Regions from separate parts of the Homo sapiens genome. Here all the other regions are linked to region 3. Evidence: promoter capture Hi-C in 16 types of primary human blood cells and fetal thymus (Javierre and others, 2016). All regions are on one chromosome and are shown on one strand. Each heading gives the region's core, a stretch centred on a gene start or on the middle of the fragment in contact. The rest is flanking DNA. Distances are from core to core; before and after follow the strand shown.

What was found. The method cuts DNA at HindIII sites, captures the fragments that hold promoters and counts their contacts. A CHiCAGO score of 5 or more calls a contact.
Region 1: a fragment that was not itself captured here is called in contact with the fragment with the promoter of ORC4 in region 3 in 3 of 17 cell types (total CD8 T cells, total B cells and monocytes); the score reaches 6.8 in total CD8 T cells.
Region 2: a contact is called between a fragment that was not itself captured here and the fragment with the promoter of ORC4 in region 3, in 2 of 17 cell types (naive CD4 T cells and naive CD8 T cells). The highest score is 7.1, in naive CD4 T cells.
Region 4: a contact is called between a fragment that was not itself captured here and the fragment with the promoter of ORC4 in region 3, in 4 of 17 cell types (total CD8 T cells, naive CD8 T cells, total B cells and 1 more). The highest score is 7.3, in total CD8 T cells.
Region 5: a fragment that was not itself captured here is called in contact with the fragment with the promoter of ORC4 in region 3 in 1 of 17 cell types (naive CD8 T cells); the score reaches 7.7 in naive CD8 T cells.
Region 6: a fragment that was not itself captured here is called in contact with the fragment with the promoter of ORC4 in region 3 in 1 of 17 cell types (total CD4 T cells); the score reaches 5.6 in total CD4 T cells.
Region 7: a contact is called between a fragment that was not itself captured here and the fragment with the promoter of ORC4 in region 3, in 1 of 17 cell types (total CD4 T cells). The highest score is 5.8, in total CD4 T cells.

The regions. Positions count from the first base shown.
Region 1 is chr2:148,995,396-148,998,145 of GRCh38, forward strand. KIF5C (kinesin family member 5C) reads left to right here. Exons shown (of 26, transcript NM_004522.3): 18 at 1,869-1,945. Among named protein-coding and RNA genes, the nearest start is that of LYPD6B, 42 kb to the right of the region's middle. The HindIII fragment of the contact is 5,790 bases long and covers 1-2,750 here.
Region 2 is chr2:148,958,558-148,961,257 of GRCh38, forward strand. All of the region lies in intron 10 of KIF5C (kinesin family member 5C), which reads left to right. Among named protein-coding and RNA genes, the nearest start is that of KIF5C-AS1, 65 kb to the left of the region's middle. The HindIII fragment of the contact is 1,835 bases long and covers 489-2,323 here.
Region 3 is chr2:148,019,361-148,022,196 of GRCh38, forward strand. ORC4 (origin recognition complex subunit 4) reads right to left here and starts at 1,377. Exons shown (of 14, transcript NM_181741.4): 1 at 1,273-1,377. It overlaps MBD5 (methyl-CpG binding domain protein 5), which reads left to right and starts at 1,731. Exons shown (of 14, transcript NM_001378120.1): 1 at 1,731-2,324. RefSeq lists enhancers at 1,022-1,619, 1,799-1,898 and a silencer at 1,289-1,448. The HindIII fragment of the contact is 3,631 bases long and covers 435-2,836 here.
Region 4 is chr2:148,977,427-148,980,223 of GRCh38, forward strand. It overlaps KIF5C (kinesin family member 5C), which reads left to right. Exons shown (of 26, transcript NM_004522.3): 13 at 1,496-1,564. Among named protein-coding and RNA genes, the nearest start is that of LYPD6B, 60 kb to the right of the region's middle. The HindIII fragment of the contact is 246 bases long and covers 1,408-1,653 here.
Region 5 is chr2:148,942,122-148,945,020 of GRCh38, forward strand. KIF5C (kinesin family member 5C) reads left to right here. Exons shown (of 26, transcript NM_004522.3): 7 at 552-639. Among named protein-coding and RNA genes, the nearest start is that of KIF5C-AS1, 49 kb to the left of the region's middle. The HindIII fragment of the contact is 3,693 bases long and covers 1-2,899 here.
Region 6 is chr2:148,920,305-148,923,155 of GRCh38, forward strand. It overlaps KIF5C (kinesin family member 5C), which reads left to right. Exons shown (of 26, transcript NM_004522.3): 2 at 1,833-1,923. The region is part of intron 1 of LOC101928553 (a long non-coding RNA gene); the gene reads right to left. Among named protein-coding and RNA genes, the nearest start is that of KIF5C-AS1, 27 kb to the left of the region's middle. The HindIII fragment of the contact is 1,820 bases long and covers 355-2,174 here.
Region 7 is chr2:149,013,116-149,015,815 of GRCh38, forward strand. All of the region lies in intron 25 of KIF5C (kinesin family member 5C), which reads left to right. Among named protein-coding and RNA genes, the nearest start is that of LYPD6B, 24 kb to the right of the region's middle. The HindIII fragment of the contact is 4,420 bases long and covers 1-2,700 here.

The DNA of each region.
Region 1 (2,750 bases), core at 196-2,695, 980 kb after region 3:
GCCTTGTGATCTCCTGAGCTTAGGGAAGTGCCTCGCACATAGGAAGCACTTCATAAATATTAATGAATATAAGCAGAAATTCAAGAGAAGGGTCTAGAAATGCAGAAAGTAGAACAGGATTAAGAATGTATGTGCCATGCAATGTGAAACTAGAACATATATATTATGGGTTGCAATGAAAATTGTTAGAATTTTCTCAGAAAGCCATTTGAAAATACATATTAATAACTGTAACATTTTTCATACCTTTTGATCATCACACCTCAGATATTCATTGCAGAATTTTAGATCAGCAAAAAAGAGGAAGCCATCTAAATGTCTAATAGTTAATACACTATGGCGTGTTATTTAATAGAACTTTTTCTTCACATGAAATACATGAAGGTGTGCAGCAATGTTTATGATGCAATGTTAGGTGAAAATCACAATATATCATTGTATTCTTACTATGGTTATAACTATTAAAAATGAATGGATGCAGCTGGGCACGGTGGCTCACGCCTGTAATCCCAGCACTTTGCGAGGCTGAGGCGGGCGGATCACGAGGTCAGGAGTTCGAGACCAGCCTGGCCAACATGGTGAAACCCTGTCTCTACTAAAAATACAAAAATTAGCAGGGTGTGGTGGCACACGCCTGTAATCCCAGCTACTCAGGAGGCTGAGGAAGGAGAATTGCTTGAATCCAGGAGGCGGAGGTTGTAATGAGCCGATATCGTGGCACTGCACTCCAGCCTGGGCGACAGAACAAGACTCCATCTTGAAAAAAAAGTGAATGGATGCTTGTGTTCCTAAAAATTCATATTTAAGATAAAAGTGGTTGTGATAGGGTAGTTGGGATTGGTGATGCTGTTATCAGTATTTATATCCTTTATTGTTGTTTTACAGTTTGCTCAGTAAATGCAATTTGTGTCAGACGCCAAGGCAAATTTAAAAAGAAAGAACATACCCACTCTCTGCTCTAACCTTGTAACATGTTCTTTGTGTGGTAACACATGGCATGTTAGGAGTAGGTGCACCATCAAAACTGCACATGGAAAATCATGTTTCTCTCTTGCATCCGGTGGTTCCTGCAGTGGGGCCACTGAGTTGAAATAAAATAGAGGCAAGAAAACCTGAAGTGGAACAGACTAGAGAGAAATAATGAATTGAATGTCACTGTCGTAAAGCACTCTGCCCCCTGGCACCCCAGCTCCCCAGCTGGGGCTGCCCATTGCACCTGGCTGGCATTTAGGGAGCACCATCGACCAAGCATATGCTGAGACAGGAGTGCCACACTGCAGCCCTGCCCCAAACATGGGGCCTTCTGGTTTAATCTCAAAAATGTTATGCTATCTTTCTGTTTCCCGTGTTCCCATCCTGGAAACAGAGTATGTTTTCCTGCCCCAGATTCTTAGAGAATAAACGCCTACCCATGGGAGGTAAATTAGGTCTTCCTAGAACTCCCATCATGGCATGGGTCCACAGGCCACCTAACAGTCACAGAGGGCTTTATCATCTGTAAGGCCCGTTCATGCACATGACCTTGGGCTGCTCACAGAGACCAGGTGGGAAACAAGCCCTCCCAGGTGTGCGGTGACATAAAGCCAGAGTGCAGTCCTAGGAGGGCCGCCCCCAGTGAGCATTGTCCCCCAGTAAGCATTGTCCCCTGCAGTTGTCGCGCTCCCCCGTGGAAGGAATGCTTCAGGAGGGGGCAGCCTTGGCTTTAGCCAGAAGTCCTTGCCTGTTCCTTTATGCCATGGTTGTAATTGCTGATATAAGCTGATGTTTCACTCTGTTGCCATTTTTCTTGCTTTTTGTTTTTTAATTTTTGCTTTTGGGTGTGAGTCCCACCAGTTAAGTCTTAAATCATCATTTAAAATTCAAAACAGAAAAAATGCACGAAGTCAGCTTCCAGGATAAGGAGAAGGAACATCTGACGCGGTTGCAGGATGCTGAAGAAATGAAGGTGTGTGTGGCTGCCCCTTCCATCAAGCCCAGTGTGCATTTGATGCATTTGGATTGGAAATGCTTGTTCTAGGAAAATCTGTCACCTTCAGATCCGTATATGGCAAGGGACAGGGGAGGGGCTGTTGTTGGGCATTCAGAGTCGATCTCAGAGTATAGCCTGGCTTAGAAATGAACAAGTCCAGAAACCCCAAGATGTCTGTAGAGAATGGTTAAGTTGCGTTAATACCTTTGTCTTCACCATTCCTGATGAAGAGGGAAAGGGTAGCACCCCCAATCACTGCATGGGCTCTTTTGTCGGAGTTAACTTCTAAGGATTTCTTCCTCCAACCTTTACGCAGAACACACCAAATTTGAGTTTCTATCTCAAACATAGAGATTTTTCTTTTGGTCACATTTTAAACTGTAAAGGAAAATTGATTGTGGAGTAAGACTTTTAGGTGAATAAAATGAGACAGGAGAAGATGTAGGATTTTGATTAGTTGTAGGCAAACTATGAGCCTCATTGAGTCAAGGTCCACAGTTAAAGACGTCCACGGCATGCCCTTGCTCCAGCCAGCAGAATAAAATCATGCGTCGTGGGAGTCCCTTTCCTGTTTTCAGAGTGCTGTTGCCAAAAGGTCTCCTTTGGACATCATCATAAATCTGTGCAGTGGGCAGGGCAGGGGCTTTTATCTCAGTTTTACATGTGAGGGAGTGCAGCTCACACAGGTTACAGGCTTATCTGGAGGTTACGTGGATAGGGAGAGGTTGGTGCCCTCTGACTGACCTGGCTGGAGAAGCTCAGGCTGGGCTGTAAAAGGTCA
Region 2 (2,700 bases), core at 156-2,655, 940 kb after region 3:
AGGTATATGTATTTTATATATCTTCTCCCACCTTGTAACTTGCCTTTTAACTGTCTTAATGGTGGCTTCTAATGAAGACAAGTTTTTAATTTTAATGAAGTCAAATTTATTTTTTCTTTTATGTTCTATTTAAGAAATCTTTGGCCAGGCATGGTGGCTCATGCCTGCAATCCCAGCACTTTGGGAGGTTGAGGTAGGCGGATCACCAGAGGTCAGGATTTTGAGACCAGCCTGGCCAACATGGTGAAACCCTGTCTCTACTAAAAATACAAAAAAATTAGCTGGGCGTGGTGGCGGGCGCCTGTAGTCCCAGCTACTCGGGAGGCTGAGGCAGGAGAATCACTTGAACCCGGGAGGCAGAGGTTGCAGTGAGCCGAGATTGTGCCACTGCACTCCAGCCTGGGCAACAGAGTGAGACTCTGTCTCAAAAAAAAAAAAACTTTGCCTACCCCAAGGTCTTGAAGATACTGTCCTATATTTTCTGTGGAAGCTTTATTGTTTTACTTTTCACATTTATGTCTGGGATCTCTCTGGAACAGAATTTTTTACATGGTATTGGGGGTGAGGAATAAAGTTCCACTTCCCCTCAGTGCCATGTATTGAAAGGACTGCCCTTTCCACTCTTCTCTATGGACACTTTTGTCATAAGTCAGATGACTGTCATCTGAGTGCCTGTTTCTGGACAATTTATTCTGTTTTTATTCCAAGATTTCTGACAATTTGATCAGTTTTACTTTATAAGAAAGTGATGATGTTCAATCCTCTAACTTTGATCTTCAGAACTGTCCTTGCTATTCTTTTTTTTTTCATTTCTATTATAAATTTCAGAATCAGCTTGCCAATTTCTATACACATACACAAACCCCTTAGGGTTTTTTTGGGGGAAGGTGGGGATTACTTTAATTCTCTAGAGCAATTTTAGGAGAATTAACATCTTTCTCTCTCAGTGTAAGCTGATTTTTTCATATTCTACCTTTAGTGGATGTGAAGGCCCCGCTTGCCCCATTTGGGCTGAATGAAGTCTCGGGCTCCAGTGTGAGACACAGATTCCCACTGTTATTTGAGTTCCAAATGGAAGTTGGGTTGCGCATCTTTAGCTACTCCTCTGGATCTTTTCTGCACCATCTCTGTCCTGCTTTGTGACTTAGGAGGGTGACTGGTTTGGGCTCATGCAATGGGCTCCTTTTCCTCTGGCTTCCAGTTATGTTACACCCGTGGGGAAGGAACACAGGCAGGCGATCAGAAGGAGAGAAGAGCGTGAGGTCCGGGTATTTATTTCCTGGCTTCTTCCCTGCCAGATCATTTTGGGTTGGCTGTGTCCCTACCAATGGCTGTGACAATTCATACCTACCAGGCAATCTTTTCCTTCTAGCCTTCTCTCTCTGGCTCCCCTTCAGCTTAAGGGTAGTAATGGCTCCCCAGTCCCTAATGTGGGTACCACATTAACCCTTGTTATTTCCCAACACCTTTCCAAACCTTTGTTAAGCACTCTTCAAATCATGCAATTTGAGCAGGTGGTCTGTTTCCTTCCAGGACCCCGATTACTACAGAAGTGGGGATTTCCTAGGCAATTGTTAAAAGTATTTTGAGAATGAGGACCAGTTACACCAATGGTGATAACCTTGCTGAGTCTGCTCACAAAATATGCCTCTGGCTAAACCTGCCTGAGTATAGCATAGAGGCTTTAGCTTTCTCTTTCTGGTATCATGTGAAGTTATCAAGGGACTCTTTATGATTTAAAAAGTAAGATTAGTAGCCTTGAAGTGTGCCCTTAAGTGTCCATAAGCATTTTAGCCATGAGTTATTTTTCACTTTTTGCCTTACTAAGTTGATAATGGATGCTTGTAATGTTTGTGCTTGCATCTGAGAAGCATCCACAGTACTGCCTGAGGATGTCAGGAGGAGAGGTGAGAGTGTCAAACAGGACCAGACTTTAAAGTAGTAATAAAATTGCTGTTATTTGAAAAATTAGACTCAAAGCACTTCTAGGGATTGCAGCCTCAAGCTACAGTGAACAAGAGAGAGTTATCCTAATTCTTAAATGGAGTCTTACATTGAAGTTGTTAAACTCCTCTTTTGACAGTTGGGTTATTTAGTTGTCTGCTTTAGCAATGAATTTTTGGAATGACATCTGTAGTGCTGGTGAGGACTGCTGAATTTCTTGCACTGAAATAGAAATCAGGATGTCATTTGCTGACAACGGTAATTAACCCGAATCACAAATCAGATTGTGCTGGCAAATATGACGGTGTAAGAACTGTTGGAAGTTCAAAATGAAAAAGTCAATAGCAAATAAAACAGGATATCACATATTTTTTAATGAAGCTTTACCTTCTTGAAAGTAAGCCTAAGTGGAGTTTCCTTTTTAATTGGACAAGGCCACTTAGGTGTTCGTTTCTGTGCATGCTGAGCTGAGTCATGGCTTTTGTTTTTGGTATCACTTGGTGCAGCTACTGATTTGCTCTCCACAGTTGCCCCTTTGGGTTACTCTCCAGGTACATCCCTGTGGCATCTCAACCCCCCAGGCCATGTGCCCCAGAGATCGCATCATCTCTTATACTGGAAGTGGCAAAATGGTGGCCATTAGGCATGTTTGTTTGTCCCACACATTGTTTTTATAAATAGTTTAAAACTGGGAGACACAAATTAAAGAAAAAACAGTTTCTGATTTTTCTTGGAAAATAGGATGATCTGAATACT
Region 3 (2,836 bases), core at 127-2,626:
GGGAGGATCATTTGAGGTCAAGAGATCGAGACCAGCCTGACCAACATGGTGAAACCCCGTCCCTACTGAAAACACAAAAAAATTAGCCAGGCGTGGTGGCACATGCCTGTAGTTTCAGCTACTCGGGAGGGTGAGGCAGGAGAACTGCTTGAACCCAGGAGACAGAGGTTGCAGTGAGCCGAGATCGCGCCACTGCACTCGTCTGGGAGACAGAGCGAGACTCCGTCTCAAAACAAAAAACAAACAAAAAGAACCCACCCAACAGAATTAAGTACCAACATAATAAATACGAAGAATTTTAGATTCTTGGTTTTTAAAAAACATACAAAGATGATATTCCTTCAAAATATCTTTACAAAACATATTGAGACTGTGATGCTTTATATTGATTGTATGAAAACAATGAAAAAGAACCAGCACTGTTTCACTATAAAAGCTTTACTAATGTAAATTTATAAATCCTTTCTTAAATATTTTGAGTTAATTCTAATTTTATGATAGAAATTCATTATTTTCAGCAAAAACAGCTGGCATTTGGGAAACCAAAGGCTCAAAAACTAAGAATAGTAACCAAAGAAACTTGACAAAACAGTCCTTTTAAAACTCTCATCTACACTATAAGGGGAAACTTTGATCACGTCCCTTCTCCTTCATCAATCGTAGAACTCAACATTAAGGACTACACAATCCCACATCCCTCTCCGAGAAAAAGCAAAGGCTTTGTGTTGTAGCAACAACGCAAGACATGGAGGGAAGCTCCACTCAAGACTTCCCTGCCTGCTCCTTCCCCAAAGCCACTCCAGAATACCAGGGAGGGTTGAGAGGTAAGGCATGAAGGGCGCAATATCCAATATGAGCAACGCGTGTGATGCATCTGGTCAAAATGCATACAGAGGACTTGTCTCTGTCCCTAGATAGAAGTCCTCCGTCCTGCAGTCATGAGGGTCAATTGCTGAGGCTTCACAGTTCCCTTCTCTCTTACACTCGGACCGTCACGCTCCTCACCTACTACCCCGATGCAGAGGTAGACTCAGGATCCCTGCACTTGTCAAGGATTCCTCGGCAAGCTCACGGGGCGGGAGTGGCCACAAGACGGAGCTCGCCTGGTCCTGGCCTTCCCGGCCTATACAAGCCTGCCCCCTTCCCAATTCCCAATCTCCACAGCCTTCCATCCTCCCACTTTCGATTCACCTTGCGCCACCGACGCCCCTGGCCTTCGTTTGCAGCAAGTTTACCCCCACCATTACCTCTCGCATAAAAGCCTGCATTTACCAGGTCAAAGAGGGGAACCAACGCCTGCAGGAATCGCTTCACCGAATCGCCTGGCCGCGTCCTCTGCTAGACTTCACCTGCCGCTGCGGACCGTACACAACCACTCCCGGCATGCCCCGCGCACGCACTACCTCTCCCACCCCGCCCCTCTCCCGCCCAAACACGTGACCTCCTTTCGTCTCCGTCCACGCCCACTTCCGTTCCTCCACTTTCCCTTAGGAAGGAGGAGGGAGCTGGGGGTGTTAAAAGCGTAGCGACTTCCTCCTCCTCCCCGCCCCCGCTCCTGTACCTCCCGCTACAATGTCTTCCGGGTCGCTAGCGCCTCGACGCCTTCTGGGAAAATAGCTCATTTCCTCCCCTCCCCCTCCTCCTGCCTTCAACCAACCAGCCACCCGTCAGAGAGGGACATGCGCAGTGAGTGCCTCCCGTCTCTTCTACCCGAACCCCCCCTCCCCCCCAAGCAGAGAGACCCCAGCAGCAGCAGCAGCTGATGATGAAGAGAGAGGCAGTGGCAGAGGGGGGGCACCTTTTATTTCTATTTTTAAAGGGACAGGACACTAATTCTACCCCACTTCAACCTTGAATTCAGGGGGGTGGGGGGAAGGCGGCTGAGTTCCTTCCCCCACCCTCCAGCCCTGAGCCCTGAGAGGGGGATTGAGCCTGAGAGAGGAGAAGGAGTTTCTTCTTCTTCGAAAACCCCCATCCACGACTCCTACCCCCTCACCCCTCCAACTCGCCTCCCTCCCTCCACCCTCCTCCTCTTTGGCCGTGAGAGGAGGAGAGAAAGAAACCAAAAGCCTCTTAGCAACACAGACCCTTTGCTGCTGCTGTTGCTGCTGCTGCTGCTGTTGCTGCTGCTGCTGCTACTGCTGCTGCTGCTACTGCTGCTGCTTGGCCCTGGCTGGAGACATCTCACTACACCCAGGAGCAGCCACTTCCCCAGCTCTCCTCCTCCTCCTTCGCCTCCTCCTCCTCCACTCCCCCCCTTTATTACCCTTTGTGTCATCCTCCACAGCTCCAGGGAAGGCACTCAAAAGTGGGGGGCAGGAAAGGTAAGTGTGTCTGTGGGGGCTTCATTGCCTTCCTCTGGCTCTGACTTTCACTCCGGGGCAACAGTAGCACCAAACCACATACGCAGTGGAGCTCCGGGGTGAGGAGGGGGTGGTGCTGGGGGGGGTGAAGGAGGGGTTGGAGTAGGGAGGGGTGTGTGAGGTGGGGTGCCCATCCTGTCAGGGGAGGAAGGGCACTTTTATTTTTATTTGCTGTTGTCAAAAGTGGTTTCTCTCCTCCATCTAACATCTGATTGTGTCTTGCTCCAGTGGGGGAGAATACAAAAACAACCCCCTCCTTCCTCCAATGAGGCGCCAGGGAAAGAGACAGAAAGAGGCACACTTTCTAGATGTCACTTAAAAAAAATTCATTGGAGAGCTCTTTTTCTCCAGGAAAAGCTCCACTGCATTTGTTTCTGAGTGGGAAAATGTCGGGATCTGGATTGTATTGGAACTGCTTATCCATTTGTAGACCTGAGTGTTTTCCCCTTTTTGGTCCTGTATGAGATTTGGAT
Region 4 (2,797 bases), core at 281-2,780, 960 kb after region 3:
AATCCTTTATGCTAAGTTGTCTAATATTTAAGTGCTCAGGAACATAAACACAAAATCGTTACTGGTAACTGACGTGCTAAGTTTATAAAGTAGAAGAGAAAATATATCTACAAAATAGTCTTCTAGTTGTAGAAGTGCCAGTTTTTGGAGGTTTCATTCTGGTATAATTTCCCTAATATGATTTGTGCAGGAAAATAGAACCATTAAAGAAACATTGGTGTAAAGGGTTCAGTAGAAACAGGATCTCTTTAAGTAGAAAAGCAAAGCCAAATGATGGTCTACATAAAGGACAAGGAGATTCAGATCCTGTATGGCTGATTTTAGAATTTTCTTTCTCCATGGAAAGCATTAGTTTGTGACATTAAATTAACATGATTCAAATGTATGCATAGATATCACCAAACAGGCTGGGGAATATCCCGTGGAACATTGAGGTTCTGTGACCCAGGCCCTTAAGTTTGGGTTAGATTTCACCCCTGGAAAAGGCAAAAGGCACAGTACAGGGTGTGTTTTTCTGGGCTGCTGATGAAAACACCTAGACAGGACCTGGCACGAAGAAGTGCCCAAGGATGCTCAATTGAATCTGACTCTGTTTGGTGTTTAGACCCTAGAAGCCAGGTTGTCATCTTCACAGGCTATGTTTCAAATTTTATTTGAAGTCGTGAAAATAATGCAGTGAAGACTGTGTTTTTTATGTAGTTAGGCATCATCTGCCTGCTGCTTTGCCTGCACTGGGGGTGGACTGAGTCTAAGGGGAGGTGGGGAGAGGTGGGCAGCGAATACCCTTGCTTTTGTGGCAGCAACACCTAGTGGCAGAAAAAGAGTGAGAAGAGCGAATTTGCCTTTCCCACTTCAGTGACAGCCCAGAAAGTAAGCATGAATGCTTCTGTCCCTCAGCTGCCCTGAGGTTTTTTTTTTTTTTTTTTTTTTTTTTTTAACTGTTAAGAAAATTAACTTCCAATCGAGAGGGAGGTCTTCCAATGCCAAATCTCCAGTTCATTTTTCTCTGGTCTGAGAGGTTTGAAGTGGAAACATTGGCTCTCCCTGCCGATCTGGTGGCAGCACTCCTGCTTACTGATGCATTTGACAAGATTTGGGATAATAACATATGACAGTGCAGCTAGGTAGAAATTCACTCCTTTATTTTTTGAATTAGGAATTTCACTGTTAGCATCTTTGAATTGGGAGGGATATCTCTAACGTCCCTTTCAGTTCCCAAACCGTAGATCTCTGATTTCTCAATGAGCAGGAATTGGGTTGAATGTGCAGGATATTATATTTCCAGAATAGTCAGCTGTTTCATCTGCTGAGAAAGGTGGGTGAGGAGGTATTTTAACTGAATGAGATCTCGGAATCTGTCTGTTTTCTGTGCAGTAACACCACACTATTCCTTCCTTCTTATCAGCAAGCTTATGGTAGCTGCCTGTCACTGGGAGACTGGGATATCAAAAATGACATAACTAACCAAAAAAACAAACATGATGTTTCGTTTCAGGATGATGAAATTAACCAGCAGAGCCAGCTGGCTGAAAAGCTGAAGCAACAGATGTTGGATCAGGATGAGGTAAAGAATGCAATATATTTTTTTTTCCACAAAGTTCTTCTATTACTCTTTGTTGTTGATGTTTGTTCCAGGAATTTAATTGGCATAGAAGCTTTTCATAATTACAGAATCATGTGGAAATTTCTTGGTAGATGTCCCTTCACTGCCTCTTACAAGCTGATTATCACTGAATTTAGAAAATAAATGTCTGACTTTCAAAAACCCCTGATGTTTTGAGATTGAGTAGCCAGTGGCTACAGTTCGTTCTGGAAGGGCAGAGACCTTTGGTTGGGTGATCAAGCAAGGATGATCCTTTTTTATTTTTATTTTTTTGAGACAGGGTCTCTCTGTTGTCCAGGCTGGAATGCAGTGGTGCAATCATGGCTCACTGCAACCTCCAGAGCTCAAATGATCTTCCCGCCTAAGACTCTCAAGTAGCTAAGACTACAAGAATGTGCCACCATACCTAGCTAATTTTTTAATATTTTGAGACAGAGTTTCTCTATGTTGGTCAGGGTGATCTTGAACTCCCGGCCTCTGGCTTGGCTCCTGCCTTGGCTCCCAAAGCACTGGGATTACAGGTGTGAGCCACTGCACCTGGCCTTGGGCAAGGATGATTCTGCCTCCTAATACCCAGCAATGCTGTGACCTGTTGTTTGAGTCCTACTTCAGTTTTGCAATCAGCTTGCTCAGATCTTTGATATACACCATGTTCTCCTGCTGTCCTGTAGGGATACACAAACAAAAACAAAACTAGAAGGTAGAGGAGGGGAAGGCAAAGAGAACGGGGCCCGAGTACTGCGTCAGCATGTTTGATACACTAAAAAGGAGGCAAATTGTTTTCAGTCTCTCCCCAAAGGCATTCAGTTCTTCAGCAAGTGTTTTTACTACATTGTGTGTTGCCAAGTATTTTACAAACAAGAACCTAAGCAAAGGATAGCCAGCCAACTTATCAAACATGCACAATTAATAATTCCCTTGCTGAGGACCGTTTAAGTGTTGTTTTCTTTTGTGCTTTAAGTTGCTTTCTGCTTCGTTGCTGAAATGCTATGGATTGGATCCCACTGTGCAATGACAGCAGGTGCCTGGGTTTCTGTCCTCAATCCCAGGCCTCTGTAGGCATAAAGGACTCTGTAACCATTTCCTTCCTCTTTGTTCCCTTTCATCTCTTTAGGACAATGATTACCTCCCCTGCCCAAACACTTCCCTTGGTAGGGAGATAATCTACACTTTTGTAATCAGGTGAACCATATT
Region 5 (2,899 bases), core at 5-2,504, 920 kb after region 3:
TATTCATCTGGTTTTAAAAATTGACATTTACTTTCTTCAATTGTATCTTTCCTTTATGACATTATTATTTAATATTGTTCACATTTAAAGAGATTTTGATATTGAGTGCAACTGTTTTTACTTTGCAGTAACGCCTATTATAGCATTATCTGTGGAACATCAAAGTAGCTAATATTGGTGGCCATGATCATAAATAAATAAAGATAGAAGGCAAAGCAAAACTTCATCCATTTCTTCTTCTCTCATTGATTTTCTTCTTTGATTTTCTGTCTTCTTAAAGTGTTGCTGTTCAGTATGAATATGTACTCAAAAACCTAGGAAAATTTGACAGTTCTTTTTTTGGTTTACGTCTATATTTCCTAGGGCTTGCTCAGACTTCTCTTTAATGTAGAATTCAAGCCCTGGGCAAGGAGGAAAAGTTGTTGGATCGATATTTCAGCCTTTCTATTTATCTGCACCTCTAGAAGATAAACAGGAAAATGTTTCAGCCTTTCAAAATATTGTTGCTTTTCAACTCTTTCAGTGGTGAACCTGAACTGATTCTCTTCCAGGGGTGCACTGAGCGGTTTGTGTCGAGCCCTGAGGAAGTCATGGATGTAATAGATGAAGGCAAAGCAAACCGACACGTGGCTGTGACAAGTAAGCATGGTGGGGGTGTTTCCTCCCCTGCAGCTTGGGAGACAGATATCTGCCCACCAACCGAGGGGGGTGGGGAATTAGGTACAAATGAAAGAATGCATGGGAAGGTGATTAAAGAGCAGTGCTCGGACACAGACGCCAGGGTATGTGTGCTATGAGTATGTCTAGGCAGTCATGGGAAAGGGTGCCTTCTGCTGTCCACAGGACTCTGAGGTCTTGGAGATATTGGGTGAGACTTACTGGACCCTGATAACAGCCTAAGCCTGAACATTAGGAAAAATAAACAACCAGCCAACCAAAGGGAGGGAAAGAGTAAGCTCATCAGTTTATTTATTTTGATCATGTTATTGTTCAGGTTAAAAAAAAGTTCCAAACCAACAAATTCTATAATATGTTGCAGTCACACACATGGAAATAAACCATGTTGGATTTCTGCCTTCTGTAAAAAAGAAAAAGAAAGGGAAGAAGGAAGTCAGAAAGCAGAGCCAGGAGCTTTAGGGAAAGCCTTCCGATATGTTACTAGCAGACACATTCAGATCGGCTCATTGGCTCTGCAGTTCCTTCCTCAGTATGTTCATTGCATCTCAGGGAAGCAGTGCATATGGGATTTGGGCAGCAGAGGATCCGTGAAAAAAGACAGTTGTCTATCTTATTAAGAGGGATGTGGACAAATGACAGTGAGTTCATATGAACAGAAGCTGAGAGAACTAAGGGTTTATAGCTTGCATGAGGGAAAAAAATCTGGAGGAGGGTGTGTGGACAATGTAATATATCTTACCGTGTTGAAGGTGCTGACACTAAGAAAGAGGGTCAGCTTGTTCTGTTCCATCTCAATACTTAGAATACCCATGATTGTTGGAGCTCTAGGGAGGCAGATTTCGACCCCTGTGAGGAGAACTCTCCAACCCTTATAGCTGCCCCAAGTGCTGCCTGCTACCTAGAGAGGTAGTGAGTTCACTGTTATGTTGTAAAAGAGATTCAGGCATTGGTTTCCTGACTGGTCTAGGCTCTTTAAGTCTCTTCTACCCAAGACTCTCTGATTCTGTGGTCCAGAACTGTAATTCTCAACATTTTCTCTATCTGAGCAATGTATCAGATGATATTCATGTATATAGCAACTTTCATAGGTGAGCCTATTCCTGGATGAAATGTTGGTCAAGCTCCACTTCTTTTTCTCTTGCTTAAAACATGCACACATACCTGAAAGAATGTAAGACAGATATTCTTATAGTAGTAGCATCTCTCATTTACGTTATTCACTCTGTTTCTGAAGCTGTTTTTAATCACAAATTATTTATGGCATACCTGATAATCCATTTTGATGCCTTGGTTTGGAACTGCTAATCTAAAAAAAAATTGCTATTATTCTTATCATTCTGGTAAGGTTTTTCTTTATTATTGCAATAAAATATACTTAATATGAAATTTGCCATCTTAACCATTTTAAAGTGTGCATTTATGTGATGTTAAGTACCTTCACAATGTGTGCAATGTCACCACCTTCCATCTCTAGAACTTTATCTTCTCCAACCAAAACTCTGTACCCAATAAACACCAATTCTTTATTCTCCTCTTGCTCAACCTACTTTATCTCTATGAATTTGACTGCTCTAGGTACCTCATGTAAGTGGAATCATAAAGTGTTTGTCCTTTTGTGACTTATTTCACTTAGCATAATGTCTTCAAGTTTCATCCATGTGGTAGCAAGTGTCCTTCCTTTTTAAGGCTGAACAATATTCCATTGTATGTATATACAACATTTAAAAAATTCGTTTAACCATTAATGGACGCTTGGGTGGCTTCCACATTTTGGCAGTTGTGAATAATGCTGTTATGAACATAGGTGTGCAAACATCTATTTGAGTCCTTGATTTCAATTCTTTTGAGTATATATGCAGAAGTGGAATTTTCGGATCTCATGGTAATTCTACTTTCAATTTCTTGAGGAACCGCTACTATTTGCTATTATTACGATTTTCTATAGCAGCTGTACCATTTTCTATTCCTAACAGCAGTACATCAGAGTTTCCATTTCTCTATATCCTTGCCACTTGTTATTGTTATTATTTTTATAATAGCCATCCAAATGGTGTGAAGTGCTGTTTCATTGTGGTTTTGATTTGCATTTCCCTAATGATTAGTGATGTTCAGCATCTTTTCATGTGCTTATAGGCCATTTGTATATCTTCTTTGAGGAATGTCTATTCAAGGTCTGTATTTATTTTTTAATCAGGTTAATTTGTTGTTGTTGACTTGGAGT
Region 6 (2,851 bases), core at 15-2,514, 900 kb after region 3:
CAGACAAACTCTGCAAATATTTACTCTTACCTTTTACCTTACTGACATTTAGTTGAATTTTACAAATAGATAAAGCTTAATAAGCATGTAGTAGGCTGATAGTTGGCAATAGACTGTGGTGAGGAATAGTCTATTGGTTATTCAACCAAATCCTTGATTCACTAACTGAAGGAAACTTACTGCAAACAAAACATCAGAAAATGTTCTATTTCTATAATTTTAGCAGAATGACTCTGGTTCTGCTGCTTTGCATCAAAACAAAATTTTATAGTAACTGAAAATTCCCTATTTCTCTAAGACCAAATGGAAGTAGCTCCTTTACCTGGCTGGTGCTATCCAGTTTTCAAAGAGTAAAGCTTAAGGGCTAGGATTTTATCTCCAGTTCAGCTCTACCCAAGTAATAAATAAGTAGAACATTAAGCCATTCTGACAGCTGTGTACTTACTTTGTGTGAAGGTTATAGGATGTAACAAGCCTTGCTCTTGGATCCCTCATGAGCAATTATCTTTTCGAGGAGTCCCACTGTCCTTGGGTGGTTCCTGGTGTCCAGAGCCACACATAGGAGGGGCACAGTGGGAGAAAAGGAGGCTCTTGGCTCTGCTCTCTCCTCCCTCTCATCTTCTGCCCTCCCCTCTGCTATGTGGGGAACATGAAGATGAAGGGCCTCCTGAGTGAGTCCGGCTGTGGAAGAGGGTGAGCATGATTGCCTCCTGCCTGGGCGGTGGTGGTAGAGAAGAGGTGCCCTCAGGATGGGTTCTCCTAGGGAAGGGGCTGTGTCTGTCCCACCCACCACTTCCCCAGCACTCAGCACTGTGCCTGGCACCTAAATGCCCAGTAACTCCTTATTAAGCATACAGTGATTGGGCGTCAGGGCACATATAATGCACGGTGGAGTTTCTTCCCTTACCTCTACTAGTTATTTCCTTGAAACACACACATTTGAGCATCAAACCAAATCCCAAGACCACACACCTGGGGAAATCTCTTGATTTACTCTACAGAAGGGCTCTCTTTGTCTTGGAAGCCTCAACCCAGTTAAAACATCACTTGTGCATGAGAAAGAAAACACAGGAATTCTTTTGGACACAAAGCAATAATATCTTTCTAATAAGAGCAGCTACTTAAATCTGTTTGTCCCATCTTCCCATTGGCTAACATTTAAGCACATCACCTTGGCTAACTGTGCCCTGCATGAATTGGCTCCTGATTTTCTTGCCCTCCAGTTCCTTGAACAAACCAGGCCCTTTGCTGTCTGCTGGGCTTCTGCCTAGGATGCGCTTCTACAGCTCTTCAGGAGCCTCCATCTTCCCGATCCTGTAAAGATACACTTAAGTGGTCCTTCTTCACCAGGCTTTCCTTGCCCTCTCTAGCATTCCCTCTGTCCCACTGTTTTAAACCTAGGCATTTTGCGTTTTCCTATGTGTTTGCTTTCTTGCTTATTAGCTATCTGCTCAACTTAATTGAATGATTCACAAGAGCAAGACTGTTTTGTGATTTTTTTTTTCAGCATCTAGCCCAGTGCCAGGCTCTGTGTAAGTGCTCAGTAAATATTTGTTTGAATGAATGAATGAGTCTCAACCTACCCTTCATTTAAAAAGTGGTTCAATTTAAATTTTTTTAAAATCTCAGATTCTCAACATACAGTGCACATATACACAATGCATGTGTGGTTTATGCTGTAAAAATTCCCTGCTCTTGGTAATGAACTGCCTTAAAGAACAGGGTTGGTGACTTAGTGCCTATGGCCTAGCTACTAATGTTTGCGATTTTTTATTCCTAAACATCTAATGTGTTTTTTCCACCTTTTTCTTCCCTTTGTCTTTCTTTTTTAGCAAGGGAAGCCATATGTCTTCGACAGAGTGCTACCTCCCAACACGACCCAAGAGCAGGTTTACAATGCATGTGCGAAGCAAATTGTCAAAGGTAAGTGCTATTTCTTTATTTCCTCCTGGGCCATTCAGAGTAATTGAAAGCATTAAGTGATATTTGCAGCCTAGGAATCAATGTGCCTTGACTGTAAGCAGAGGCCTGCTAATTGGAAACACTGAATTCTATAGCCTCGGTTCTAGCCCTGATTTGCTATGATGTCAGGCAAATTATTTAATCTCTCTATTCTCCCTTTTCAAGGACATGTCTTTATTTCTTTTGCCACCTTTTTTATTTTGTCACCCAAAAGCTTAAAAGCAAGGTAAGCTGTGTTCACACTATTTCTGTAATAATTTTAAAACACTGGCTGCAGGTATGGAACCTCCTTTTTCCTTTGAAGGAGAAAATATATATTCCTGATGCTCCAGTTGTACATCTTTGGTTGATTTATTCTGTGTGTCTGTCTCCCTTTTACTAATATCTCTCAGCAAGAAGCCTTAAATATGGAAAATTTTTGCCATTTAGAAATTTTCTACAGTGTCATAAAATCACATTACCGTGTTGGTTATTGAGCTGGTCTTGCCATTCAGCATTCCTTAATTATGCTTTCTCCTAACCCATTTTCAACCATCCCACCCAGATCCTGACATTTATTCCTCCAAACAGGTAGCCTCAAGCCTACATTTACATCTTAGAGATCAGTCCTTTTCTCTAGGACTGGCATTGGCCCTGGAGGATTCATGTCAAAATAGCAGCAGGGAGATGAAGCAATTTGCACATTGCTCTACCTTGTCCTTTCAAATCAGGGGCAGGTTGAAGCTTGCATTGGCAGGCTTGCCATCTGGACAGAGCTGGGGGGCATCTCCTGCTACTTTGCTTTTCATCATCAAATCATTTCCTTCAAATGTGAATGCTGTGGCAATTGTGCTTTCAAATGTCTTGATGCTGCCCCCTGTATAGGCAGCTCTGGATTTAATAAGCAAGA
Region 7 (2,700 bases), core at 53-2,552, 990 kb after region 3:
ACTCTCCATGGTTTATACAGGATGGCGGTTTACGTCTGTCTTATGTAAGGGAAATTTGAAGGTGGTACATCAGTAGTTAAGAATCTCCACAGTGAAAACAGAAACCTAGCCTCTTAACTAGGTTAAGCACGTGCCTGCCTCCTGAACTCAAGGCCAGCTCAAGGTCACCAAATGACTTCAGTTTCAGCCATCATGCCTACATTCCAACTTTAGCAACCAGAGAGGAAGCAGAGAAGAGGCAAAAGCAGCCGTCCTGAATGAATCTCCTTTAAGTAGCCTTCCTGAAGCCCCATGCAATGCTGATGCCTCCCTTTCCCTGGACAGCACTGAGCCACATGGCCACATCTAGCTGGAAAAGGTAGTCTTTTAGCTGGGCACATCACTACCCCAAAGAAAGGTAATGCTTTTAGAGCAAGGACAGGGAGAGTGGATGTTGAGGTGGGCAGCTGGCATACTGTGCATTATGGACCACCTAATATGCTGCAGCACTGGGCTAGATGTAATATAGGCATCACCTCATTTGATGAAAGCACACATAGAGGTGTATGTGTGTTTCCCAGCAAGGCCTTACTAAATATACTGGTCCAGGGATTCTGGGGTCCAGAGATTGTGCAGTGGGACAGTCACCTTCTTCATGGGTTCCAACAAAGGTCTGCCAGTCCCATATTTTATGTAGGCTCCAAACAACCAAATGCTGGCCATTCATCACCAGTGTAGCCTCTTCTCATACAGAAGAGTGAAAATCAGTAGGTCTGGGGAGACTTTCAAGACCTTCGGAGTGAAAGAACCACCCTCACCCATTGTGGCATTTTTTTTTAATTTTACTTTAAGTTCTGGGATACATGTGCTCAATGTCCAGGTTTGTCACATAAGTATACATGTGCCATGATGGTTTGCTGCACCCATCAACCCATCATCATCTTTTCGAGATGGAGTTTCACTCTTGTTGCCCAGGCTGGAGTGCAATGGCATGATCTTGGCTCACTGCATCCTCTGCCTCCTGGGTTCAAACGATTCTCCTGCCTCAGCCTCCCGAGTAGCTGGGATTACAGGCATGTGCCACCATGCCCAGCTAGTTTTTGTATTTTTAGTAGAGACAGGGTTTCACCATGTTGGCCAGGCTGGTCTTGAACTCCTAACTTCAAGTGATTCCCCCCACCTCAGCTTCCCAAAGTGCTGGGATTACAAGCGTGAGCTACTGCACCCAGCTGGCAATTTGTTTCTTTACTCAAAGTGTTACAAGTGGTTTTGATGGTTTTATCTGAATTCAGAGCCTCCTTGACATACCTTCTCCACACAGCTTCAGACACAGCTTCTGTAACTAGGTGCTTCTCTCACCAGGTTACAAAATAAACAGGCCCCCTCTTACAGCTCTCAGGATGGCAGTGTGGCTGAGGGGACTGGCATTGGACAAGGGACCTGGGTTCAGGTGTTAGGTCTTCCACTTCCTTCAAGTTACTTAAACTCAGGTCTGTTTCCTCATATATGAAATGGGGAAAATCTTTTATGTTGGTCATTGGCATTGACAGAAGGCTTAAATGAGGTCATGCTTCTAAGCCCATAACAATTGCTCAATAAAAATGTTAGCTGCTAGTATAGATGAGCACTGCAGAAGGTGGTAGTTGATACATGTTGGTTTATAGTGTCCTTTAATTCATATAGTTGTTACTAAATGGTTTTTAGTTCCTCTATAGCAATAAATCCTGGCGACTGGATAGGGAAGGCCTATTTCTAACTGAGTATCCTAGTTGTTGCTATGAACTGACATAAGGGCTTTTAAAGATAATATTGGCCGGGCATGGCGGGTCATGCCTGTAATCCCAGCACTTTGGGAAGCTGAGGTGGGCAGATCACTTTAGGTCAGGAGTTCAAGACCAGCCTGGCCAACATGGTGAAACATCCTTCCCTACTAAAAATAGAAAAATTAGCTGGGCGTAGACATGCACACCTGTAACCCTAGCTACTTGGGAGGTTGAAGTGGAGAATTGCTTGAACCCAGGAGGCAGAGGTTGCAGTGAGCCGAGATTGTGCCACTGCACTCCAGCCTAGGTGACAAAGTGAGAGCCTATCTAAAAAACATATATATATAATTTACTTATCTACAAGCTATGACTATTTTTAAGAAATGACTGGGCATTTGTCAGTGGAGATTAAAAAGGGGTAGTAATCAACAGATTCAGGAATTGCAATTGAAAAGTAAAGAAATGCTAAATCCTTTTTGAAAAGTAATTGAAAATATGGAATTCATTGCTTAGATGAGAGCAAAGCCTTTTTGAGACAGTCTTTCCTGACCTTTGGGATTTTCATTCTGAAGTATCTCTTCCCTGGGTAGAAATGATCTCAATTGTGTCTTCCCAGCCCTCCTGTGGAGTCAAAGCACATATTCTTACAGCTGGATATCTTTGGAATTTCCTTCTGCTTCATTTCAGGGTTCAAGAATTATAGCCATAATGAGTATTTTGGTTTATTCTCAAGGTTTCAGAGCCTATGAAGATGCCAATATACAAAAATCAAAAGAACCCAGGATAATGCTGGCTTTGATCTTATCTGGTTCAAATCCACAGGGGGCTGCCTCAGGAGGAGATGATCTTTTTCAAACCCCAGAGCTACATATGGGGCAGTGCAGTGCAACCATGTGACATTGGGCAAGTTACTTGATTTCTGTCAGCTTTAGGTTTCCTACCGGCTAAGTGGGATCAG